Linked DNA regions of Homo sapiens: all the other regions are linked to region 1. Evidence: promoter capture Hi-C in 16 types of primary human blood cells and fetal thymus (Javierre and others, 2016). All regions are on one chromosome and are shown on one strand. Each heading gives the region's core, a stretch centred on a gene start or on the middle of the fragment in contact. The rest is flanking DNA. Distances are from core to core; before and after follow the strand shown.

The links. The method cuts DNA at HindIII sites, captures the fragments that hold promoters and counts their contacts. A CHiCAGO score of 5 or more calls a contact.
Region 2: a fragment that was not itself captured here is called in contact with the fragment with the promoter of CEP290 in region 1 in 1 of 17 cell types (non-activated CD4 T cells); the score reaches 5.4 in non-activated CD4 T cells.
Region 3: a fragment that was not itself captured here is called in contact with the fragment with the promoter of CEP290 in region 1 in 1 of 17 cell types (naive B cells); the score reaches 6.0 in naive B cells.
Region 4: a contact is called between a fragment that was not itself captured here and the fragment with the promoter of CEP290 in region 1, in 13 of 17 cell types (naive CD8 T cells, total CD4 T cells, naive CD4 T cells and 10 more). The highest score is 22.8, in naive CD8 T cells.
Region 5: a contact is called between a fragment that was not itself captured here and the fragment with the promoter of CEP290 in region 1, in 1 of 17 cell types (naive CD8 T cells). The highest score is 5.1, in naive CD8 T cells.
Region 6: a fragment that was not itself captured here is called in contact with the fragment with the promoter of CEP290 in region 1 in 1 of 17 cell types (activated CD4 T cells); the score reaches 6.5 in activated CD4 T cells.
Region 7: the fragment with the promoter of DUSP6 here is called in contact with the fragment with the promoter of CEP290 in region 1 in 1 of 17 cell types (total CD4 T cells); the score reaches 5.4 in total CD4 T cells.

What each region holds. Positions count from the first base shown.
Region 1 is chr12:88,140,838-88,144,546 of GRCh38, forward strand. CEP290 (centrosomal protein 290) reads right to left here and starts at 1,251. Exons shown (of 54, transcript NM_025114.4): 1 at 1,063-1,251; 2 at 369-497; 3 at 119-196. The coding sequence starts at 470. TMTC3 (transmembrane O-mannosyltransferase targeting cadherins 3) reads left to right here and starts at 1,470. Exons shown (of 14, transcript NM_181783.4): 1 at 1,470-1,650. RefSeq lists enhancers at 1,091-1,530, 1,337-1,840. The HindIII fragment of the contact is 8,380 bases long and covers 1-1,713 here.
Region 2 is chr12:89,949,519-89,953,227 of GRCh38, forward strand. All of the region lies in intron 6 of LOC105369890 (a long non-coding RNA gene), which reads left to right. It overlaps LINC02399 (long intergenic non-protein coding RNA 2399), which reads left to right. Exons shown (of 3, transcript NR_135019.1): 3 at 1-208. Among named protein-coding and RNA genes, the nearest start is that of LINC02399, 3.7 kb to the left of the region's middle. The HindIII fragment of the contact is 3,706 bases long and covers 299-3,709 here.
Region 3 is chr12:89,574,727-89,578,435 of GRCh38, forward strand. No RefSeq gene overlaps it. Among named protein-coding and RNA genes, the nearest start is that of POC1B-GALNT4, 50 kb to the left of the region's middle. The HindIII fragment of the contact is 1,427 bases long and covers 1,116-2,542 here.
Region 4 is chr12:89,526,594-89,530,302 of GRCh38, forward strand. The region is part of intron 1 of POC1B-AS1 (POC1B antisense RNA 1); the gene reads left to right. Among named protein-coding and RNA genes, the nearest start is that of POC1B-GALNT4, 2.2 kb to the left of the region's middle. The HindIII fragment of the contact is 4,188 bases long and covers 1-3,709 here.
Region 5 is chr12:89,504,465-89,508,173 of GRCh38, forward strand. All of the region lies in intron 2 of POC1B-DUSP6 (POC1B-DUSP6 readthrough), which reads right to left. The region is part of intron 2 of POC1B (POC1 centriolar protein B); the gene reads right to left. Among named protein-coding and RNA genes, the nearest start is that of GALNT4, 18 kb to the right of the region's middle. The HindIII fragment of the contact is 1,819 bases long and covers 1,218-3,036 here.
Region 6 is chr12:89,485,222-89,488,930 of GRCh38, forward strand. All of the region lies in intron 4 of POC1B-DUSP6 (POC1B-DUSP6 readthrough), which reads right to left. All of the region lies in intron 4 of POC1B (POC1 centriolar protein B), which reads right to left. Among named protein-coding and RNA genes, the nearest start is that of GALNT4, 38 kb to the right of the region's middle. The HindIII fragment of the contact is 984 bases long and covers 1,099-2,082 here.
Region 7 is chr12:89,350,905-89,354,613 of GRCh38, forward strand. It overlaps DUSP6 (dual specificity phosphatase 6), which reads right to left and starts at 1,597. Exons shown (of 3, transcript NM_001946.4): 1 at 736-1,597; 2 at 1-121. The coding sequence starts at 1,135. It overlaps POC1B-DUSP6 (POC1B-DUSP6 readthrough), which reads right to left. Exons shown (of 11, transcript NR_189589.1): 10 at 1-121. RefSeq lists an enhancer at 89-723 and a silencer at 2,543-2,852. The HindIII fragment of the contact is 9,767 bases long and covers 1-3,709 here.

The DNA.
Region 1 (3,709 bases), core at 1-2,500:
TTTTTAGTGGTGATGTAGATATTACCAGGTATTTTCACAAAGATTACCTTATATAAGAACAGATTTTTATAGTTCCACTAATAGCCAAACCTATAGTTAAAACCTACTACATACAAACCTTCATTAGTGACTGAGTAATTCTGAAAAGGTGTATCACATTTTCTTGCTTTTCACTTTTTAGCTCATTTACTTCCACCTAAGTAAACAGAAAAGCAACTGTTTTATATTTTATAACCTTCAAGCAAAATATAAGAACACTTCCAGATTGTGACAATTATAGTTGTCCCTGAAAAAAATAAATTCATATTTTATTAATAAATTAATCATAAGTTAATGTATATATCTATTATTATTGACCAATTAAGCACCTTGGATAAGGAAATCAATAAATTATCTGCCAGTTCTTCTTGACGGGGCAGGTCATCTGGGTCAACTTTCATTATTTCTTTCCAGTTTATATTAGGTGGCATCTTGAATTCTTTCACTGTGCTCCACCTCTGTAACAAAACAGGTGTATATTAGCATTTTCAAGGTACACAGTATTATTGGTTTTCTAGCACCTTACATTTTTTGCAGATTATTTCATTATAACTTTCTGATGTTAGCAAAACAGACAATTGGGCCACAAAATAGACAAGTGGGCAAAATAGCCTTGATCAAAAATAGCAGTCGGCACAAACTGTCAGAGTGTCCCGGCTAAATAAAATGTGACGGCTTCCTTGCTAACACTAATCTAAGTTAATACTTAAGATTTCTGGATCCCTTCCTCCACACCCCTACCCACAATGCGCGCGAACACCCTAATCCTGGCAAGCGCGAGGGTCTGTGGAAGGCCGACAATCATCCCTGATTTGGAGAAACAGAATTGGGGCTGAAAAAAAACGCAGAAATTAACATTTGGAATGAGTGAAGTTGTGCGGCGGAAACTGGAACCGAAGCAAGGCAGTATTAGGGACCCGAGGCTGGAAGGGCGGGGTAGCTATGCTGTGGCACACGGGCCCTCAGGCTAAAGAACCTGAGCGTGGAGTGACTCGCTAATCCTGCTTACAAGGATCCACCCACCTAGACCAAGCCTGGCAACCAGCGGAGGCCTCTCACTACCGCAACCACCAAGCTGGACCCGGCCGCGGGCCCTGACAGATCCCTATCGCGGTTCCACGCGGACTCTGGGTCCAGCCAAATGGTCCCGAGCAAGCCAAAGCGGCAGCGGCTGCTAGGCGACACCATCCCCAACTCCGCCAAGGCCAGAATAAGATCCCGGATGCCAGGAGAGCCTACAGTTCACGACCGTGGGTGATGCTTTACGTTTAGATTCTCCGCCGGAGTCCCAGAGCTCGGTGTTCAGGATGATGAGAAGGCGTGGAACGAGGACTTCAAATCCCAGAGTGCAGTTCTGCCTGAGGCTTCTGCATGCTGGGAACTGAAGTCCCTGAGAAGAGGAGGTAAGGCGCTCCCGGCATGCAACGCGTAAGACTGCGACGGTACCGGGGCGGCGGGGAAGGACCGAGAGGCGGGAGGAGCAGCGGCTCAGGCGCCTGCAAACTGGTGGCCTGAACGAGGTAGACCATGACTGTGGTTTCAGTGGCGTCACTCGCTGGGCTGCTCTTCCTGAGGTTTTCCTAAGCCATCCCCTGGCGGAACCGCCCCCAGGTGAGGTCGAGCTGTCGGTCAGCATATTGGGAGGAATTGAGGGGAGCAGTCCTGGGTTAGAGAAGCTTCTGCTATTGGGGCCGTAGGGCCTGGTCCCATTCTGAAAAAGTGGGAACACCCTGCCTTCTCTTCAGGCGTTTGCAAGCGGCGTCCAGGGTAGTGCCTTCTGTAAGAAGGAAAAAACAAAAAGTTTTAGCCTTGTTTAGTATCAGAATCTGTCTTGATAGTTAGAGTGAGAGCCGCGCAGCCGTGATCCTCGTTTGGGGGCGAGCGAAGAATTGACAAGAGGTCTCGGCATCCCGACCCCGCCCGCCTTACCTGTAGCACCATTCCTTTCGCGGATCGTGGGGCTTGATGGTTGTGGAGCTAGTATAAAGTCAAGGCTCTAGAGAGGAGAGGTTAGTACTTGTCCGGACCACTGCCGGGGGTGGAGAGAGAAGGGATCCAAGGACTCACCTGTACTATTGTTGCCACTTGCTTGGTTACCTAGGGTGCCCTTCCATGAAAGCGCCTTCTCTGGTGTTTACCACTCTTACTCGTGCAAGTTTTGCTCATCCTGCTCGTCTGCTCACAATCATGCTGGAGTATGATACATCTCTACCTAACTTTCCTAAGAAGCTGTAGACTTAAATCTAAATGACATTTCCAACTATCTGGACCAGTGCTTTGTCTTTTTTTTTTTTTAAACGCTGCTTTAAAAAAAAAATTACTGTACTTGACAGTAAATTTTCCTTTCGAAAATAAGTAATGAGTTTCTTTTTAAACCCCCAATTTGGGTAAAATAAGTAGCTCAGTACAAAATAAAAAGATACTGATTTTGTGAGATGAATTTTAAAGACATTAGTTAGATTTATAGGAATGACAATTTTACTACTTTTCTGAAAGATTATATGCCAAATACTATTCATTATCTTGTTTATTCTTCCTTACAATCCAGTGAAATAGGTGCTTACATTGTCCTCATTTTCCATCTGAGTTAAGAAACTGAGGCTTGGAGAAGCTAAGTAACTTAAATAGTGTGATTGAACACAGATCTCTCTGGCTGGAGGACATATTCTTAACTTCTATACACCTCCTCAGACATTCTGGGAAACCAATATTTGTGAAGTGCTTGTTCCTCAATCTTGCTATTTTTATTAAATGTTATATTTTAATTTTGTAAGTGTTTACTCAATAATTTGAATTAAACATTCTTCATGTTCAGTGTTCTTAATTCATAATTTAACATGGGATGGTGTTTCTGGAAAGGTGTTCTGATCTGGACCCCAGGAGAGGGCTCCTGGATCTCGCCAAGAAAGAATTGGAGGTGCATACACCCCCATTGGAGGTGGTAGACTAAGGATTGTTATAGTTATTTCTTGATTATATGCTAAACAAGGGGTGGGTTATTCATGAGTTTTCTGGGAAGAGGGTAGGCCATTCCTAGATCTGAGTGTTCCTCCCCTTTTTAGACTATATAGAGTAACTTCTTCACATTGCCATGGCATCTGTAAACTGTCATAGCACTGGTGGGAGTGTCTTTTAGGATGCTAATGCATTATAATTAGTGTATAATGAGCAGTGAGAACGAGCAGACGTCCCACCTTTCTCGCCATCTTGGATTTGGTGGGATTTGGCTGGCTTCTTTACTGCATGCTGTTTTATCAGCAAAGTCTTTATGATCAGTATCTTGTGCCCACCTCCTATCTCATCCTGTGACTTAGAATGACTGACAGACATCCTGAGAATGCAGCCCAGTAGGTCTCACCCTTATTTTACCCAGCCCCTATTCAAGATGGAGTTGTTGTGATTCAAATACCTCTGACAATGGTAGGAATGAAATTTAATAGTTACTGAGCACATGTTATGTCATACACTATGCTGACTACTGCGTGTTTGTTTTCATAATAGAAGTCTGTTTTCTCTAACACCTTTTCTTCTGTTTTTTTTTTCATTCGTTATAACTTATTTTTATGTATTCACTTACAAGTTTCGTTTGTCTGTATTACTCTTTTCTACCCTTCTGCCACCACCCTCTTGCTCACATTCATAAACTCAAGGTGCCTGGTCTCTAATGGTA
Region 2 (3,709 bases), core at 902-3,401, 1.8 Mb after region 1:
AGTATCTTTCACTGTATCTATGCCCACTATTGAGCAGGTCTATATTTTCAGTCCTGTTTATATGCTATTTACAATGATCGTCAAACACACTTAAGCAATTCCTTTTTATTCCTCATGCAATGGGAAGTAAGCAAACATTCCATGAGGTTCATTTTATGAAGCAATAAAAGAAAGTTAGTCATCAAATAAAATAAAATGGTAAAATCAAGAGACTTACTTATTCAAACTGTTTACAATCTTTCAAATAAAAATAAAAATGATTTTATAGAAAACAGATATTGAAGTAATACAACCTTTAAGCTTCCACTTGCATCCCAGATTGGACCCCACCTAGAAGAAATTTGGAATAGAGTGAATTGAATTTAGTGGTTGACTCATAATCTGGGCAAGAGACTTTTAGTCTTTCCCTTCCTGTAGTTTGCTGATTTCCCTAGAACACTTACTGCCCTTCAGAACAAGCAGGCTTCTATGGTAACCAGTGAAGTAAATGGACCCCGTTGCCAGGAAAGGTACATGAAACAAAACCAAAACAAGGCAGACAGGAAGACAGGGGCTTCCCTAGCGGTTGAATTAAGAGTTGTCAGGGGAAACATAGAAATACAATTATGAAACAGCTCAGTGCGATGTGTTAATATTGATTGTGATAATGATAGCAGTAGCATATGGATTAATATGTGGTAAAAGCTGCGGCCTTTTTCTTTCCTTTTAGAACTTTGCCTTTGATTACATATGCACAGATTTCTATGACACTGTTCAATAACTAACATCTATTGAGAACCAACTATTTGCCAAAATTTTACATTTAGTTTTAAAAACCATTATAGCCACCTTAAAAGTACATTGTGATACTAATTTTACAGATTCTTCCAAACTCAGTTTATCAGCCATCCCTGATAAGCCACTTAGGTCTCTCAGTCAAATGGTCCAGTGGAATCCTGTGGAGCTCTTAGAACGTTTGTAATTATGCAATTAATGATCATAATACTTAAAGTTTAATGTTCATGTTCTCTGCCAGTTTTTAGAGTGAGACAAGCACAATGCCTTGTTCACTGGCCCATCTCTAGAGCCTGGCATGGTAGCTGGCACACAGTGAAAGCTCAGTAGACACCTTTGGCTGAGATATAAAAAGACCAAGGCTTTCTGACTTTTGCTCAATTGTACACAAGTATTGAAACCTCAGCCAGGGGCTTTTCACTAAACACTCTGCCTGAGATGTTGTTTTGTCTTAAGAATTCAGAGTACATAGACATTCTATCCTCTTGGGTATTAATCACATTTCAGTAATCTAAAAAAGAGAAATAGTATTTTCCCTCTACTTTAAAGATGCAAAAAAAGAGTTTAGTGTCTTGCCTGAAGTCACACATGCTCTGTAATAATAAATAGGTTGATGATGATAACAATGGTAATGACTTACAAAAACATGGCAGGACTGGACTCCTAGCTTCCAGCTGCACGCTCTTTAGACAAAGATTTCCCAAACTTTTCCTTACCATATTTGACTGATTTAAAAAATATATATGTAAAATTCTACCATAATTGTTTTTACATTTGTCAATTTTTTTTCTTTTTTTGCCCTCTCTTTGAGGGCAACAACTTTATCTTTTCTCTATTTTCTCATGTTGGATTCTTTCACTTACATGCCAATTCAGTAAATGTGTGCTAAATGAATCCTGTTGCCAACATCCTTATGACTGCATGTGCTGGTTAGTATCTTTCTTCTTTTACTTGTGTCAGAATAGTGTAGGTTATCCTGTGATAACAACTCTAAAATTTCAGGTTATTTCTCATTCATGGTGTCAGGGAGAGCTTTGCTTATCACTGTCACATACGGAGTAAGGCTGAAGGAGACTCTGTCATTTTATGACACTGCCATCTAATGACGTCAGGCTTCAGGGTTCACCCCAGCAGGGGATGAGAAAGAGCTGGCAAGTCAAACACAAGCCATAGAAGCCTTAGTCCAGAGTGTCATTCACATGCCTTTGGGCAAAATGAGTCACATGGCAGCATCTAACTTCAAGGGAACATGGAAATGTAATCTCCTTTCTAACCAAAAGTAAATAATTAGAAATTGGTGGACATTAACAATGCCTATCATACAACCATCATCTATGGAGTCAGGCTTTGTGAAAGAAAGAAGGTAGATGCAGATAGGAAGCCAAAGGGGGAAAAAAAAGAGAGAAGATCTGGGAGGGGGAAAGATGGATAGGGAAAGGAGAGAGGAATAGCTCAACTGCTATTCTGACAAGATTAGCTCCATTTCCAAAGGAGAACTAAGCCCTTAAATAAACCAGTCTTGTCTTACCTGTGCCTCCGGATCATGCACATGACTCATTAGTGAGTTGATTATATTTTACCATTGTTGTTCATATTTTGTCGATGTTCTTATACCATTGTGGGTCATGGTTCATTGGGACAGACAATTTTTAAGGTTTCCTGGATTGTCTTTCATGCATGAGGTATAGAACTATAAAGATTGCTGCCTTCAACTTGAGGTAGGTGTGACAAAGAAATAAAACTAAGAAGTAGAGGTGTGTTTGCCATTGGAATGCGTCATTACTGTCTTCCTCATCTTTCTTTCACTAAGTAAAGTTTCTAACTATACTCCTTCCTTGCTGGGGTTGAATACCACAGAGGAAAGAGTTGTGAATATCTTATTTATCATTGTATTCTCAGAGTCTACAAGTACCAGGCAAATAGGTAGTGCTCAGTAGATAACTGCTCATTGGTGGCTTGAAAGGGGCAGCTTAGCAGGCCCAGTTATAGCATTTTTTTTTTTTTTTTTTTTTTTTTTTTTGAGACGGAGTCTCGCTCTGTTGCCCAGGCTGGAGTGCAGTGGCGGGATCTCGGGTCATTGCAAGCTCCACCTCCCGGGTTCACGCCATTCTCCTGCCTCAGCCTCCCAAGTAGCTGGGACTACAGGCGCCCGCCACTACGCCCGGCTAATTTTTTGTATTTTTAGTAGAGACGGGGTTTCACCGTTTTTAGCCGGGATGGTCTCGATCTCCTGACCTCGTGATCCGCCCGCCTCGGCCTCCCAAAGTGCTGGGATTACAGGCGTGAGCCACCGCGCCCGGCCGTATAGCATTTGTAATTAAAGGTTTATTTCCCAAAGTGGGCTCTTTGGGGAAGGGAATTGCAGAACTACTGAAGTTACCTTTCATCTGATGAGTTGTGCTGTAGGCAAGTTAAATAGGGAGGCTGTTTTTAATCTTTGAGTTGGGCCTTGGCAAGATTTGCTCAGTTGTTTTCTTTTCAGTTGGTAGTTTGGAAGTCCCAGCAGTATAGCTTATGGCTGACAGTCAATTAGTTGTGAATTTATTTTTAATCTTCAGCAAATGTCCCTTGTGAACAAACAAAGGGTGCATGATAATTACCATCAACTACTGTCTCTTCAACTCCCCTGTGTGCTTGGCAAAAGTACTGTGCAAAACAGACAAAATATAGTTCTAGTGTAAGGGATCTGACAGAGCAAATAAGGATCATTAACTTTGCCATAGTTTTTAAAAATAATTATTTTATGTGGGAGAGTGATTTTCTTATTATCTGATAAAGTGCTTCACGGAGGGCTAGAGATAGAAAGAAGATTATAAAAGAAAGAGGAATAAAGATAGAGCATGTAAATACCCAAAGGGGTCCTTTGATTACTGTACAAGTTTAATAATTAGAAAATAATATGATTACCAGTTGATGATGATAGTTTATGGAGGAG
Region 3 (3,709 bases), core at 579-3,078, 1.4 Mb after region 1:
ACAGTTCAGGCATGGACCAGGGCCTGGCTCTCCTCTCAGGGCCTTTCTCCTGTCTAAATTTGGTGGGTGACCTCTGGCTGGAAAGAGGAAGTGAGGTGGTGGAAAGAGACAAGGTTTCTTCCTTCCCTGCAGGAGGCTGTGGCAAAAAGCCAGCATTCACAGTAAGTTCTTCGGTTTACAAACTATTTCTTCTGTGGTGGGTTATTTCCACTGCATTCCAAAGCAGGCTCTGCTTTTTGGAGAGGTAAAAAATATGTCAGCAGTCCGAAGTGAACTGCTCAAAGCTGGCTCTCATAAGAAGATACTCACTTTTCAAGAGTTAAGGGTCACAGCAAAGGGCCCTCTCAACTCCACCTCCTTGGTGACATTAAGGGGAGATAATTAAAACAGAATGGGCTCCTGCAAATGTGTTGCATTATCTCCTGGTTGACTCAGCAATTCCACAGGAGGCTGAAAGTTTAATGAAGAGCAGTAAGAAAGACATCTGCAAATCTGACAATAACCAAGAAGTTTGCAAAAAGAAGTATGCAGAAATGAAAGTTCATTTTCTCATGTCATAAATTACTTTATAGTATCCTTGCTTTCCCACTCTTGTTAAAAAAAAGGTTTTTTTATTTATTTTTATTTTTATTTTACTAACTCACTTAAATATTTACATGTAGAATCAGACCTGGCAGCAAATTCAAAGAAATCTGTTAAGGACGGCAAAAGTTGCTTCTGTATCAGAGGCTTTGAGACTCCAGGTCTCAATTAACCTTTCTAAATAGGAACTGACAGACTTGAATGTAAAATCAGAGTGGGTGAGGGGAGGGGAGACTAAAATGTTTTTGAAGAATGTTTGACTACAAAGTAAACAATTTGAACAGAAAATATTACATCAGATGCTGCCTCCACATTCCATAAAACTGTATATACAGTAAAATGTACTGTACAGTTGAAAGACATGGATAAAAGAAATCATAAAACATTTGAGTTTTGTGATGATCCAAACTTCATGGAATTAGTTGTGTTGGCATAAGACAGAGTTTTTTTTTGTTTTTTTTTTTCTGTTAGATCTTGACATGAAGTTTGTACAGATGGCATTGAAAGCATAACTTTAGAGATATTTATCTTTAAGCTTTCTTTTCCTTTCTGTCATCAAATTGACCCATGAGTACAAATTTACTAGGTATTATTATTTATTTCAGGTATGTTATTTCATTTTGCTAACCAAAATGTTATCAGTATTATTTTGCACAAAATAGCACACTACTTATTATTCATTTTCAGGATTTTGCTTTGAATGAAAGCAAAAGGAAAGTTAACTTAGCAAATTTACAGCATAATCAAGATTGTAAGGGGAAAGGTTTAAATGTTAGAAAACAACATGTCAAAAGCACCCATTTATAAGCCAATGTTTCATTGTCAGTTTCCAAATTAGTATCAAACACAGCTACTCTCTCCATTTAAATGATGTTTACATATCTAAAAGCAATACAATCCCTTATCTCCAAGAATCTGGTTAATCAGATAAGCCTTTCTCATTAGCTTGTGTTAGAGAGATTTTTACTGTATTTTAAACAGCTGTAATTCAATAAATCTGAAAGAGTAGGGAATTCAGCACTACTGCTTACCTTATGAGTTTGTAGATCATGAAGAAATATCATTATCTCTCCTGCTTCATTGTACCAGCTGTTTTCAGTATGGACTGTTCCTATTTTTCCCATATGGCAAAACCTCATCCATCTCTGTTCTTGCCCATGGACTTTGTTAGATATTCTTTAACCCTGGGTCCCCATGCTTGTTGAAGTTAACCCTCTAACATACCCTGTTTGACATCATTATTGCACGTAGTGTGGTATTATAATTGTTCATATGGGGGATTCTTTTTCATCTTGGTTTCCCTTCTGCCTAGCATAGTCCCTGCGTAGGGGAGATGTGCAATGGTTTCTGAAAGAGAATCCAAAGCATCACTTTGAGTTATTAGAGTAACAAGGCTGCTTGTTACTGCAACACTGCCTTGCCATTGCCACTCAACTTGGGTCTTCCACACTTGCCCCTTGGGACTATTGTCATTTGATGCACTTCCTATTTAGCCTACATCATCTCCCTCTCTCTGAGTGATGGAGAAATGGCTTCTCTGTTTATGTCCTTCTCTCCACTTTTGGGGGTCTCACAGAAGAATGGCTTGGGCCACTGCTTATTATGTTTCATTTTATAGCCCTTTTGGGGAGAAGGCAGACTTCCCATACAGTTGCTGAGGACATTAATCACACAGCATTTTCACTCTCACTTCTTTCTTTCTCAGGGACAGCCTCATTGTGAACCAAGATCCTTTGCTCTCTTCCTCTCAGCCAGCCTGGTCAGAGATTGATGGCCCATGCCTTATACCTTCATATATGCAAACTTTTTAAAAAAGTGTTTCTTGTCCCATCTTGCAATTTAAATTGCAGTGGCCCATTCCTAAATCCATCAACTGAATGTTATATATCTGAAACCCCAGCTGTGTACAGTTCCAATGGTTTGGCTAGATATGAATGATGGTATTCACACAGAGAACACAAGCTTCCAAATATATACACCAAAATTTTAAGTCTGTGTGATATGCTTAATGGTAGTTTTCTTTGTCATTATATACTTTGCCAACTTAATAGTGAGCACAGATTATTATTATAATCTGAAATAAAAACCAAAGATATTTATATTTGGGAATGTTTCATAAGAAATATAACACAAAATTTCCCATATAAAGTGGTTACCAATTCAATGCTGAAAGCAATGTTTCAAAAGAGAAAGCATAAAAAGCTAAGTTGTTTTTAAAGTAAAGCTATTAGCTATAATTCCTTTTGGGTCTATTTTCAAATGAATTCAATTAGTCTCATGGTAAATATCAAAAGAGCTTTATCTTATTTTATTTTATTTTATTTTATTTTATTTTTGAGACAGAGTCTCACTCTTTTGCCCAGGCTGGAGTGCAGTGGCGTGGTCTCGACTCACTGCAACCTTCGCCTCCTGGATTCAAGCGATTCTCCTGCCTCAGTCTCCTGAGTAGCTGGGATTACAGGCATGCACCACCACACCCAGCTAATTTTTGTATTTTTAGTAGAGGCGGGGTTCCTCCATGTTGATTGGGCTGATTTTGAACTCCTGACCTCAGGTGATCCGCCTGCTCCAGCCTCCCAAAGTGTTGGGATTACAGGCGTGAGCCACCGCGCCTGGACTCAAAAGAGCTTTACATTTTTATACATACTAATAACGACTTAATTAGTACAGATCCAATTGTCAATTACCCATGTTATCTGCTTTCCAACTTATTTGGGCTGTTTCCCTTTCCAGAAACCAGAGAGGGGAAGAAAAAAAGCACAAAAACAAAATAATTTGCTCATTTGTTATTTGCATTAAGTAATTTTGGAGAAGATTGAAATTATCTACAAAAGTGAATCTATTATTTGTGGGTTTTCCAGTTCCACAGGCAATCGAGAGCCACTGTGAAGTCTCTTCCTGATAGACCAAACCAAATTTATGACTTCCAGAAATCTCCAGATCCAAGGGTCAAGGTTGTGTCGCTTTCAATGGACAAGTTCTGCCCAGGTTCTTCAGTTTTGAGAAAAGGAAAACCAGTAACACAAAATTCAATACTTTTCCAATGGTCTCTTTAAATAAATTTGCTACAGACACTGTGGCAACACTAAAGCTTATTAAGCTAAAAAGTTTCTTGAAATTGTCAGAA
Region 4 (3,709 bases), core at 597-3,096, 1.4 Mb after region 1:
CTAAACTTACACAGCTGGATACTTAAAGTCTTTAGGAAGACTTGGAAACATGGTTTTTTTTGTTTGTTTTTTGTGAGACCACGTTTCTACAGCAGGCTTTGTTACACATAGTATCATTTGTGCTTCAGCCAAACAATGAAGTTGGTAGAATTACAAAATGTTTTCAATGTTTCCAAGTTATAAACTTGATTCCTAGATATTGGTCTTAGAGGTCACACAGAGACAGTTCTTCTAATTCCAAGTCCATATCCTTTTTTTTTTTTTAACCCTGCCTCAAAGCGTGATGTTCTGAGCTGAAAATTACATATAGTGTAAAGATCCTTAGCAACATCAAAGGGCATGATAGAACACAGCTGGTAAGACATGTGTTTTATGCAAATGAAAGGTATGCTACACACCTTAATTACAGATTCCCTAGTTGTCTAGTGATTGAGTTTAATTTTATTGAATATGGTACTTAACAACTAAACAGGTAGGCTTTAGATTACAGTATTAGTTAATTTAAGTATACACTTGTTAAATATCTGTTGTATGTTTGGCCTTGAGGGACACAATGATGACTAAGATATTTCCCCTACCTTCAAGAACTCAGCAATCTAGGGTTGGTGAGTCTCATGCTTTAGCATTTGTAATGTTGATTTGGGGGCTCCATTTCCAGAGATGCTGAATCAACATATACAAGGTGGGATCCAGGGCCCTTCTGATGTAACAAGCTCCATAGATGATTACTATGGGAGTCTCAGCTGTCTATGTTGAGAAACACTGCATTAGTCTAGGAGATGATATGTTAAGAGTGTTGATATCAGCAACTTGTCAGCAAACTGTTGCAGGACTCTTAGTTTTGCTACATATTACCAGTTTAGGCTTGATTTATTTTAAAAGCCTGCCATGTTTAAAACTAATGCTGGATACTGGTGGGAATGTAAAATGATGTAGCTCTGTGAAAAAGTTTGTCAGTTCCTAAAAAGTTAAACATACAATTACCTTATAATCCAGCAATTTCACTGCTAGGTATATCCCATAAGTATTGAAAGCAGAGACTCCAACAGATGCCAGTGTTCAAAGCAAGCATTATTTACAATAGCCAAAAAGTGGATACAATCCTAGTATCCAACAGATGAATGGATAAACAAAATGTATGTGATATATACATATAAGGAAATATTATCCTGCCATAAAAAGAAATGAAATTGTGATACAAGCTATAACATGGATGAACCTTGAAAACATTTTGCTAAGTGAATAAGCCAAACACAAATGAGCATATATTGTATGATTCCATTCATATGAGGTACCTAGAATAGGTGAATTCATAAGGACAGAAAGTAGAATAGAGGTTACTAGGGCTGGGGGTAAGGGAGACTGGGGAGTTACTGTTTAATGGGTGCAGAGTTTCTGTTTGGGATGATGAAGTTCTGGAAATAGATAGTGGTGATGTTTGCACAACATTGTGAATGTACTTAATGCCAGTGAATTGTACACCTAAAAAATGGGTAAAATGGTAAATTTCATTACAGGTATTTCACCCCAATAATAAAATAATAATGCCAGAAGCTGAAGAGTAATCAGGACCTCAGGATTACTCATAGGTATGTTACGTCTAATATTGGGCACAGGAGAAGCAGAAAAGGGAAGAAGTTGGAGATTTAGAAACTAGCTCACAAGAAGAAAAAATATAGATTTTTATTTAAGTGTTTTAGTAAAAGTTTAGCTTTTACTTTTTTTCTCAATTATCAAGAAACACATGTTTTAAATTTAAAAGATGGGAGGGAAACTACATATTAATCCTATTACCTAAAGTTGATCTTAAAAAATTTGTCACCTACTGATATGGTTTGGATTTGTGTCCCCACCCAACTGTCATGTAGAATTGTAATCCCCAGTGTTGGAGGAGGGGGCTGGTGGGAGGTGATTGGATCATGGGGGTGGATTTCTCCCTTGCTGTTCTGAGTGAGTTATCACGAGATCTGGTTGTTTAAAAGTGTGTAGCACTTCCCCCTTTGCTCTCTTCCTCCTGCTCCAGCCATGGAGCAGCCATGCTCTCTTCCCCTTTGCCTTCCACCATGTTTGTAAGTTTCCTGTGGCCTCCCCAGCCATACTTCCTGTACAGCCTGCAGAACCATGAGCCAATTAAACCCGCTTTTTTTGTAAATTACCCAGTCGCAGGTAGTTCTTCATAGCAATGTGAGAACGGACTAATATACCTACCTATGTTTTCACTACATGCCAGGACTTTTCTAAGTACCTTACAAATTTTGACATTTAGTGATCATAACGATCTTATTAGAGATGTGCTATTATTACCATTTCCGTTTTATAGATGAGTAAATTGATATGCAAAGACATTAAGTTACTTGCCCAAGGCACACTGCTAACTAGGAAGTGGCAGAGTTGAGATTTTTAGACACTCGCAGTCTGCCTCCAGAATCCACTCTCTCTTTTTTTTTTTTTTTTTTGAGACGGAGTCTCACTCTGTCGCCCAGACTGGAATGCAGTGGCGCGATCTCGGCTCACTGCAAGCTGCTCCGCCTCCCAGGTTCACGCCATTCCCCTGCCTCAGCCTCCCGAGCAGCTGGGACTACAGGCGCCCGCCACCAAGCCCGGCTAATTTTTTTTGTATTTTTTTTTTAATAGAGACTGGTTTTCACCGTGTTAGCCAGGATGGTCTCAATATCCTAACCTCGTGATCCGCCTGTCTCGGCCTCCCAAAGTGCTGGGATTACAGGTGTGAGCCACCTCACCTGGCCCAGAATCCACTCTCTTAATCACTGTCATGACTTTTGTGTGATTGCAAGTGTTATGTAAATGTATAAAACATTGCATTCTTGCCAAGGTTTATAATAATAAGTTTTACAAAATGAAAGTAATATCTCCTTTATTTTCATTCCACTGTCCTCATTTATTACTCTAAACTGCCCTTCCCATTGTTCTTTTCCATAGTATTTGATTTTGTTCTTTTCGGCTTTTCTTCACCTTTGCAAATAGCAAAAGCTCAGAGGTAGACAATTGGAAATGTGGTCAAAGTTGGGGAAGTTTTTTCTAACCTCAAGCCTAATTCCACTTGCTACAATGATTATTTAGACCTCTCTGGACTGCAACCTAATCATTTATGTGGGTGGGAGCCACAAGCAGGATCAGTATTTAAAAACCTACAAGGTTTTACTGGAGGCCGGGTACTAGCTAGGACAAACTGACCTCTAATTAGCCCTTCTTATACAGTTCCCCCTAAAACAGAAATTGAATGTACTTACTTGAGCATTATAAAGAGTTATTTTTATTTTAGCACTGGTTCTTCCTTGGCCTTCAAATTTGGAAATTCAGCATAGTACAAAAGTGCCATCTACTGTTCACCTTACTATATAGCACTTGGAGTGAACATATTTTGAGCCTGTTTACAGGCAATGGAACTCCCTTGTTGATACACTTCCTCCAAAGTATAGGAGAGCACATGGAAAAGTACAAGATGGGTTTGAATCAATAATGAATTACATTTTTGAAAACTGCATGATTCATTTAAGTTAACATTCAGTCTCCAAGTCCTATCAACTACCTCCTCACCATATATATATATATAATATATATGATGGGCTGCCCAGGCTGGCCTTGAACTCCTGAGTTCAAGTGATCCACCTGCAGCAGCCTCCCAGGTAGCTGGGATTACAAGCATGCTCCTCATCATATATTTTATCTTCCTATCTTTCTGTCTAAT
Region 5 (3,709 bases), core at 877-3,376, 1.4 Mb after region 1:
TGCGGAAGGCCGCAGGGTCCTCTGCCTAGGAAAACCAGAGACCTTTGTTCACTTGTTTATCTGCTGACCTTCCCTCCACTATTGTCCTATGACCCTGCCAAATCCCTCTCTGCAAGAAACACCCAAGAATGATCAATAAAAAAAAAAAAGAAAGAAAAAAGACATTAACGTTAATAAGTATAGAGGAAAAGAATGATAATTTGTACTGTGCAAAAATTAAGAAGTTTTGTTCACTGAGAGATACCACTAACCAAGTAGAAAAGCAAGCCACCAAGTGGCAAAGAAGATATTTACAACACATATATCCAACACATAACAAAGTGTGCATATACAGAATCTATAAAGAATGCTACGAATCAGCCAGGTACAGTGGCTCATGCCTGTAATCCCAGCAATTTGAGACGCCAAGGTGAGAGGACCACTTGAGGCCAGGAGTTTGAGACCAACTTGGGCAACATAATGAGACTCCATCTCTACAAAAAAAATAAAATTTAAAAAGAATGCTACAAATCAATAAGAAAAAGGCACACTACCCAACAACAACAACAAAAATAGGCAAAGGACTTAAACAGGCACTTTGCAAAAGAAGATACCCATATGGTCAATAAACATATGAAAATGTGCTCAATTCCATTAGTCATCACGAAAACGTAAATTAAAACCACAATGAGATATCCGTGCACACTCATCAGAATGATTACAATGAAAAAGATAAATAACACCAAATCTTGGTGAGGATGTAGAACAACTGGAATGTTCATATACTACTAGTGGTTATAACCACTTTGAAAATCTATTTTGAAATATCTATTGAAGCTGAATATATACTTAGTATTTGATTCAGCAATTCCACTTCTAGGAATATACCCACAGAAATTCTTATGTATGGTTAGCAAAAGACATGTGCAATGTTTGTGGCAATACTATTCACAATAGATCAAAGCTAGAAGCCCAACTATCCAAGTAAAATGAATACATAAATTGTGATATATTCATGTTGCATACCCACTGTGTTAAATTTTACTTATATGAAGTTTAAGAAGAAGCAAAATTAACCTATGAAGTTAGAAGCAAACATAGTGATTATGTGGATGGCAGGGAGGGAGTATAGTGGCTGGAAGGGAACACAAGAGGGGACTTCCGGAGATGCTGGTAATGTTATGCTTCTCACTCTGGGTTTTGGTTAAATAAGCAGGTCACATTCTAAATATTCATCAAGCTTTACAGTTATATGATTTGTGCAATTTTTGGAACATATCAATGCTTCAATAAAACATTTAGGAAAAAGCAGAAAACATCACTCTAGCTGTTGTGTGGAGAAGCTACAAGGGGCAAGGGACAGATCTATTAGGAGGCTACTGCAATCACGCAGTCAGGAGAAAGCAGTGGTCTGGACTAGACTGCGAGCCTTGGAAGGAGGAAAAAGAGTCAAAATCAAGATATACTGTAGGGTCTATGAGACTTGCTAATGACTAGATGTGAGGGAGAGAAAAAGAGAAGATGCTAGAATTTTGGCCTGGGCACTGAAGTGAGTTTTAGTGCCATTTAATGAGATGAGAAAGACCAGAAAAGGAGATCTGAAGTGATACAGGTTGGGGTGGACATAGTAGTTTTGAGATGCCAATTAGACATACAAGTGAAAATGTCAAGTAGGAAGATGGATATACCCCGCCTGGAGCCCAGGGAGAGGTTCTGACTGTACAGTGTGGTGGTTAAAAGAACACCCTGTGAAATTAGACTCACTGTGTTCAAATCCATGCTGTCACTTACTGCTGTGTGCCCTTGGGCAAGTTATTCCACCTCTCTGTGCCCAGGACATTTCATTTGCAAAATGAGGTGTTAAAAGTATTAAAGGAAATAGTACTTGCAATTTATGCCTGCCACATGAAAAATACTCAAATGTAGCTATTATTGCTAAAGTTTTCTCTGTTAGTAGTAACTTAGAGAAAGTACTAAAGACTGTAAACTAGATGGGATCACTGAGGAAATCAGTACAGATAAAGAAGAGGTTGAGGACACTTAACGTTCAGATAAGGAAGAGCAAAGGAAGGAGCCACAAACGAAGTAGGAGAGGAACAAGGACATTGTGGTGTCCAGGAAGAGAAGGAGCATTCCAAGAGGGTGACAAGTGTGTCAAATGAGGTTTAGTAAAATCAGGCCTGATCAGGACCTGCTACATAATTTGCAGGGCCTAGTGCAAAACGTAAATGTGAAGCTCTTATAGGAAAATAATTAAGAATTTCATAGCATTAAACTAAGCATGGGGCCCTGTGCAACTGTACAGGAGGTATGCCCACAAAGCTGGCCCTGGGCCCAAGAGAGAGGAGGTTCCAGCGGGGCTTCCTGGGTCGAGTAGGGGCTCAGAAAGCTGTGAAACTCACTCATTTCCTGCATCAGGACTTACTTTGGTCCTGGATAAATAATATTGAAGATATATACTTAAAATATTCCTAACATCAGAATTTGTCCATGTGTTTTCTTCCTCAAGAAAGTGGGATCAAAGCCAGAAAGGCATGGAGTCAGAAGAAAATAGGAGGGAGTTAATACATATTATATAACATATTACGACCCCCAAGGCAGCAGATCACTTCAGCCCAGAAGTCTGAGACCAGCTGGGCAACGTCTCGAAACCCCGTCTCTACAAAAAATAACAAAAAAATTAGCTGGGCATGGTGACCTGCACCTGTATTCCCAGCTACTCTGTGGGGGTGGGGGAGGCTGAGGTGGGAGATAGAGGCTGTACTGAGCCACGATTGCGCCACTGCACTCCAGCCTGCTCCAGACAGAGCAAGGCCCTGTCTCAAAAAAAAAAAAAAAAAAAAAAAAAACTATGAAAACCAACATTGAATTTCCCTCTTTACTTCCTTAACCTTCTTTCTTAGGAAAGAACTGTCCTACCAAACCCTAATACCATGATAATAAAATGTATTTGGTTATTGATGTCAGTGTTGTACTGTGTCAACTTGGAATTTGCTTTCATACATTTCCATTAAACCACACCCTATATAAACATTACCACATAATTTAAAATGTCAAAGCTTGTACCATTCATCTTCAACGGGTCTATTTCGAGATAAAATGTCAAAAGGGAGGAAATTAAGGGAAAACATTAACTAGTAATCTACCAGTTTAAAAAAACTATTTATGTTCTATAACAATAATCCATTGTTTCAAGAAATCCCTGTTGGCAGAAGAAAGAACAAAGCCCATGCTTACCTAGGTCAGTGCTTTGTCTCTGGAGGTGACAACAAAGAACAACAAATGGAAAACATGTTTGCTCTTTGTCTGTCACACAATGTCCAAATGGCCACCCGTCTTTGTGTCACCTTAAGTACCAATAACTTCCTTGAGTCAACTCAAGCTTTCTCACTCATTGATTTGACCAAAATCAGCTGCAGTTACTTAGAGGCTCTGTCTGGAACACTATTTTCTGAAAAGAAATGTTACCGTCTCCAGTTTTTTGTTTCTTACAAATTATCTTACGTATCTTTTCAGTTGGTAATATGTGTACCTGAAACAGAATTCCAATATTACAGAATTCCAACATTACAAAACAGCATTTAATGAAATCTCCTTCTAGTCCTTGGCAACCTGGTTCTCCTTCCCAGAAGCAACCAGCATTACTAATTTCTGGGGAATCCTTTGTGCTTATACAAATGTGTGTGTCTATTCTCATATGCTTTTTATACAAATGGTAGTATATTATTCT
Region 6 (3,709 bases), core at 341-2,840, 1.3 Mb after region 1:
GAATGATTTCATCAAGGTTAAGTTCTCATGGGAAGATGCACAAAACACTCTGGGAGGCTGGGCCTTGGTGGTCAATCAGGCCCTCCAGACATTGGTCTAAACTCTCTTGTTCTAACTGCAATAAGGTAAGCCAAGAAGATATATTATAATACATGCATGAGAAAGAATCTGTAAGCATGTTGTAGTGTACATAAATAAAAAGTTGCCAAGAAGATGAAATCCTTATTCATTAAATTTAACCAACTTATTCATCAAAGAACATTCCTTGAGGACGGCCTCTGCAGAGTTTCACATTAATCATTCACTCCAAACAGTAAGAAAACTGATTTTTTAAAAAAAATCCCTCAGAACCTTAAGGTACCGGTAAGATAAAGACAGTCCATGAAGGCCAGGTGTGCCAAGTCAGCAACTGGCCAATTGAACAAGAGTCAACCAAAATGGACAAAGAAAGCAGTGAAGCCACATAAACATCTCCATGTAAAACATGCATGCACCAGTACTCCTGGATTTGCTAGAAAAGATTCACAAAAATAACTCTTCTCTGAAGAAATCCATGAAAATTACCTTTGCTTTAGAGATAAACCTAAGCCTACTCACCAACCTTTCACTGATTGATTCAACCATATTTTTGCACAACCCCTGACCCTTTCCCACCCTGTAGCTGATACTCTACAGTGCTTCTCAGATCATATCTGACCTATCTTGAACACTCTCCTGACACCGACCTTACTAACTTCCACAATATAGTCAAGTCTTGGCTCAAACGTCACCTTGGTAAATATGCCTTCCCTGACCTCGATATGTAAAAGACCACCTCCCAAACCCACCACTCTTCATCTTGTTACCCCCTACATCATTTTTCTCCAGAGTACTTATCACTAATATATTTGCTGTCTGTCTCTCTTCAGTAAAGGAAGCTCCACGAGAGTAGGAATTTTGTGTTTTATTTTCTGCTGTATTCATACAATTTACAACAGTGCCTGGCAAGAGAATACAACATAAATACTTGTAATTCGAAGTCTAATAGGGAAGAGAGGCCTAAGCTGATAAACAGACCTCATAAGAAGGGCAATGTGGTGGCATAAAGGAGTCACAATAAGCTTGGCCCAGGAGAAGCAGAAACCTTTCTTGGAGGAAGAGATGCAGAGCAGGTTGTGAAGGAAGGGTGGAAGCAGGGGGCGTCCCAGCATGGAAATCACCATATGGAAAGGCACAAGGCAAAAAGGGTCATTCACACTTGAGGAGACTTGTCTGGCTGCAAGAAGGTGAATGGTGAAAGTGACAGAAGAAAGACAGAAAGTGACAAAAGAAAGATAGGAGGGCAGTGCACACACACGCCAGGACAAGGAGTCACTGAGGGGTTTTAAGGCAAGAAACAGCATGACTAGATTTGTTTTTCACAAAAGCAGAGATGCAGGGGTGGAGGGTGGGAGGAGGTAATCTGTGGTCTGAGAGACCATTTAGGAGATTCCTGCAACAGTCTGCACAAAGGCCAATGGTGCTAAAACTACAGCAGCTGCGTTGAGGATGGAGCTAAAATGAATGTCTTGACCGGGTAAGAAGATTTCACTTTTCAAAACTCTGCTCCAGTATCACTTCCTATGGAAAGCATCTTTTTTAGGATAAAACAAAAAAGGAAAAGGCAATTTTTAAAAACTCTCTCTTTCTCTCTCTCTCTCTCTCACACACACACAGACACACACACACACACAGACACACATACACACACTCTCTATAATACTTTCAGGTATGGCTGTATCCAGAAACCAAATCATATGATTAGACAGAAATTCATTCTGTCTTCATCTCACAGCTCTGCTCTCTTCTGAATTAATATTATTTTTAGGTCAGTTCTTTGCCCAGGGTGTCCCTCAGCAGTCACAGGCTTAAATAAGCCTAAACACTGCCAACCAAGAGGAAAGGCCCATGGTTCCAACAAGACTCACTCCTCCAGGAGGGGATGCTATGTTTCCGTGGGCGAGCCTGAGCTGACTGTCCGCTCTGGAACTGGAGATAGGGCCACTCCTGCACTCCTGCACATGACACGGAGAGGACAAGGGGGCAAGCTGGTTCCTCAGGGCAAGCTTGAGCACTGCTACCAGAAAACAGGGAATAGGCAGACAGAAGTGCAGAGTTCCACCATCGTTTTCTTCTCTCAAATTGATAAAGGGGAAGAACATTTTCAGTGACTCCTCCCCGGTTCCAGAGTTTCTCCCTAAATAGCACCCAGCTGGAAGAGAGGTAGTCTTATGGCATCACTCAGTCCCAAACACCGTCAACTGGTACTTCTTATCCTCAGTCCAGTGAGAGAAGCCTCAATACCCTCAAGTTCCACAGAGGCTGAGAGCAGGGAGCTAACTTGCTCCAGGGTGATGCTATGGTGCAGGCAGGCATATGAATATTGGATAGTTTTGTCCCATATGCTCCCTGTGTTCTGACCACAGCTGAATAATTAATGTTCCTGGAGCACACTATGTACCTGCAGGCCACAGTGCTTTGCTCCTCCTGGCTCCCTCATGAAGACAGCTTGCCTTCCCTCTTCGCACCTGACAAATATGCCACTGCCTCCTCTTCCCCTTCTCTCCCCTCAGCTCTGGGACTGAAACGGCTTTCTTGACTTTTCCTCACACAAATCTTGTTCAATTCTCACTTATTTATTACTCCCTTATCATCTTTTGTGCCACTTTTTCCCTTAGGACACACCATTTTATAACTATTTAGTATCATGTTTCCCCACTGAAGTAACTGTCGGCTCCCTGAGGCCAAGACTGTGTCTTTCATCTCTACATACTTAATATAGCTATATGGTACAGGGCAGTGACTATACTTATTAAAGTAATATTTTGAAGACCAAATTTCACATTATTGGGACTTTTCATAAATTGTCTTACATTACGATTACCCTTTGATAAAAGACTTATATATAGATGATTCAATACAACGACAACGAATAAAGTATCTCCTATAATTTACTTCCATAAAAAATTTTCCCTTACATGAACAACTTGATAATATTCCTTCTTGTTATTAGAAAATGAAAACTATATCAGCCACCATCACTCCACTAATACCTCAGCTACAGGAATCAGGCTAAACATCATGCCAAATTTGTATCCTCAGGGTTACATGGTCTGCCGATTCCCTCTGATGACTGATGTATATACAGATATGAGAGTTATTAGAAAGCACCTTCATTTTAGAAGGAAACAGGAGCACATAGCACTGGACAAAAACAGCTATTATTATTATACAGCTATTATTATTATTGTTATTATTATTATTCTGAGATAGAGTCTAGCTCTGTTGCCCAGGCTGGAGTGAAGTGGCACAATCTCAGCTCACTGCAATCTCTGCTCCCAAGTTCAAGTGATTCTCCTGCCTCAGCCTCCCGAGTAGCTGGGATTACAGGCACCTGCCACCACGCCCAGCTAATTTTTGTATTTTTAGTAGAGACGGGGTTTCATCATGTTGGCCAGGCTGGTTTTGAACTCCTGACCTCAAGTGATCTGCCAGCTTCGGCCTCCCAAAGTGCTGGGATTACGGGCATGAGTCACTGCGCAGGGCCAATAGCAGCTATTATTATTATTCAGGGTGAAACTTAGGCATTCTATTTTGCTTAGTTAAATCAACCGTCACGTTTTTGCTTATTGTGCAGCTCCCTGTGAAGAATATGCTTCCTTTGCCAACCATACCCAGAGCTGGCTCACAG
Region 7 (3,709 bases), core at 347-2,846, 1.2 Mb after region 1:
GAGCTGATCCGCAGGCCCCCGAGCCCCAGCACTGGCAACGGCGGCGAGCTGCTGCTACACGAGCCGTCTAGATTGGTCTCGCAATGCAGGGAGAACTCGGCTTGGAACTTACTGAAGCCACCTGCCAGAACGAGAAAAGCAATCATCTAACCTGAGAAGCCGTAGTAGTTTTCACAGCTTGTAAGAACCGCAGCCCGGCGCAAGAAACACCACAAGCATCCTACGAACCCCCTACATACAGAACCATCTATAAGAGAAACACACTTTAAATGTGCACCATCGGGAATGGAACGAACGGGCCCGCCTCGCCAGGGAACCCTTATTCGCTTGAATCCGGAAATAGACAAAATGGCAACTTTTTGGAATATTTTGAGAGCTAAGATGTGCCAATTTGCATCCCCAACAATCTCTCCCGTCCTGCAAATCTTAATTCAAAATCGAACGATAGAAAACAGGGTGATGGTGGAGGATGTTCTGGCTAAGAAGGCGCAGAACCCGTTAGAAAGAAACCGCCGGTACCCGCAGCCGGAAGCGAGTGGATTCTGAGCCGGCCCGGTTCTCTGGTGCGGAACGCGCGGTTCGCGGCCCCTACCTCGCCGGCTGCCGGTCCCTAGGCGGGCAGCGCGGCTCCGAAGCTCCAGCTGAGCGGAGCAGAGGTATTTTCAATCCACGCGCCCCGCCCGCAGCCCTGCGCCCCTAGCCCTGCCCCGCGCGCGGAGTTCCCTGGGCGCGTACCTTCCAGGTAGAACGCCCGGCAGCCCTCGTCCTTGAGCTTCTTGAGCAGCAGCCCGAGCACCGACTCGCCGCCCGTATTCTCGTTCCAGTCGCTGCTGCTCTCGTCGTAGAGCACCACTGTGTCGGTGCCACAGCGCCGGGTGAAGCGGTCCCGGTCCTCGCCGCGCGTGAAGAGCGCGCGCACCGGCAGGTTACCCTTCTGCAGGCGCCGCAGCATGATGCCCGGGATGGCCACGTTGATGGCCGACTCGATGTGCGACGACTCGTATAGCTCCTGCGGCCGGCAGTCCATCAGCAGCAGCCGCTCGTTGCCCAGCTCCAGCTGCTCGTTGAGCCACGCCACCGTCTTGCTGATCGCCATTTCCGACGCGAAGGGCACGGGTCTGAGCGTATCTATCATGGGGGTCGAGCTGCGGGAGAGGGCGGGGTGCCTACCAGACGCCCCTCGGGGCAGGCATAGGCCGAGCGCACCGCGCGCGAAGCTGCCGCTCTCGGAGCGGGGTTTAATTCCGCCTCGCCTTACCCAAGCCGAGGCTAGCGGTTGGGGCAGACGAGACAGAAGTAAAGCCGGAGGTTCTCTCTGCACCCAGCTGCAGCCGCTGGCTCTTAGTGTCAATGAATCTCTCTCAATGAAGCTGCCCAGATAGTTTTTGTTCCTCCCCAGTGAATGAAATCCAATTAATTCGGACTCCGTGCTACTGAGAGGGGAGGAAAAAAAGTCTAGCGGCTTCTAATCCCTCCCTCCAAGGCTGCACCTCAAATCTACCCGGGCGTCTTTCTCCCCGGATTATTTAAGACTCGATTTGCTATCTCTTGGACTCAGCCTCGCACACCCCCTGCGCGAGGCAGCTCCTCAATGGATACAAACAGCGAGCGTCTCAATGGATACATTCTCCGGGCCAGCCAATGAGCGTGCTGCGGAAGGGGCTGTTGCCGTGGGGACGGGCCGGCTGGAACAGGTTGTGTTGATGAATTGTTAATGAGTTTGTCATTCACAAAAACGGAAAGGAATTTCCGCTCCGGATAAGCCCCAGTGCAAACAAGCTGCAACAGCGGGCTCGGCGGGAGGAAGGAGAAAGAAGGGGAGGCGGCAGCGGAGGAGGAGCAGGGCACATAAACCAGGGCACTTCAGTTGTCTCATGTTTCCTTCTGTTGAGAGTTCACACTTCGCGTCGGAACTTTTGCGCACCAATGGCGCAATTAGCATGCACAAAAGCCCTTGTTCGCGACGCTTGCGTTCGCGAGCTAGCTTTAGGAAAACTTGTGCTGACTTTTCGTTCTTTGTATTCCCTTCAAACTCATTTGGACCCAAGTTCGCCTTAACCCTCCCCTCCCCCAACCCCCCTTCTTTAGGCGGTGTGTGGCATTTGTTTGCCACTTTTAAAGGCCCAGCTCTGTTTGCTCTGATGTTCTTTTAGCCGAGGCTGTGTTGGGGCTGGTGAACTGACTGGGCTTTAGTGACCGATGAGGTGTTAAATGCTAATCCAACATATTTCGAAACAAACCAGGATTTTGTTGAAACATTTTAAAGCAAACAAACAAACGTCTGGTTGTGCAGAAAATCAGAAGAAAACCTTTTTTCTTAAAATAACATTTTATTTTCATTAAAACAATGTAGAGTGCAGAAACAAACTCTTAGGTCAGTCCAGTGCTTTTACTGTATTCCGCTCCGGCGGCGTGGGGAGTTACAAGCCATTGTTCGGGGGAATCTATATCTCTCCCCCCGCCCCACCACCACCATCGCCTGCTGGGAGGTCGCGCTGGTTAATGATTTCTGGGCAAGGAGCTCGGCTTCTGACGGGGGAGCCGGTCTGGCGGGGCTGCCTGAGCGAGGTGTGCTGGGACGCGCCGGGCCGGGCCAGCAGTCCCCGCCATGGGCGAGGCGTGAGGAAGTCCTCCCGCAAGACCTGCAGGCTGCGGGGGCTCGGCAGGGGGGCTCGACGATTGGTTACAGTTGGCAGGGAGGCATGTCAGAGGGGGCCTCCCCAGCCCTCTCCTGCCGCCGCCTCCTCCCTTTGTCCAGCGCCGGGCACTCCGGGGAGCACCAGCCGCGCCTGCGCGCTGCGCTCCCTGCCACCGCCCCGCCGTCCCCGTCTCCCCGCTTGGGCACGGGGCTGTGCGCGACGCAGTGGACGGGTGCGGGGCTCAGCGAGGGACTCCCGGGTCCATAGAGATCTGGGGAGGGTGGGGGGAGCAAGGACGAGTGCCTGCCGGGACCCCCCTGGCTCCTCGCTCCCAAGGAGTCGAGGGGAACGTCTCTACCGCGCTGCAAAGCCAGCAGGTAACTTTGGGGAGGTGCGGGCCAGGCCAGCGAGCAGCACTCGGCCCAGGCGCCGCGGGGCGGACGGATTGGAAGCCGGATGGAGGCGTGGCCGGGTGGGGGCCGCGGCGGCGGGGAGGCGCGTTCCCGGCGCGCAGAGCTCTATTGTTATATAAAAGTGCCGAAGCCTGCCCCTCCCGAGCGGAAAACCACCTGTGTGCGGCCGGCGCGGCGCGAGAGGGATGCAGCCGGAAGGCGCGGGCCCTAATCCGGCCTTCCCTCCCTAAACCCCGGCGGAAAAGAGGCCGCGCTTTGTCCCACCGCTGCCTGAGAGGCGGAAGCGGGGGCAGCCGTCCGGCGGGGTGCGGCTTTGGGGAGTGTCCCTTGCTGCGCTTTGCGCCTACCGTGAACACCGCGAGGGCGCCTAAGGTCGCGGGGTCTCCCTTCGCCCGACGCCCCGCACCCACGGGCATGCCTGCTAACACCCCCGCTGCAATTTGCATTTTTAGTCACCCGCCTCTTCCCTGGTTTGGGAAATGTAGGCTAAAAAAAGGCGGCTGCGAGGCCTAGGTTGCCAATTTTGGAGCTCTGCTTCAGGCAGGCCGCCCCTGGAGGAGCGTGTTCGACAAAGGTGGGGATTGCCGAGCTCCTCTCCGCACCATTTTTGGGCAGTCCTTGGAACAAAACTCGTATATTTCACTGGGTATCTTCTAG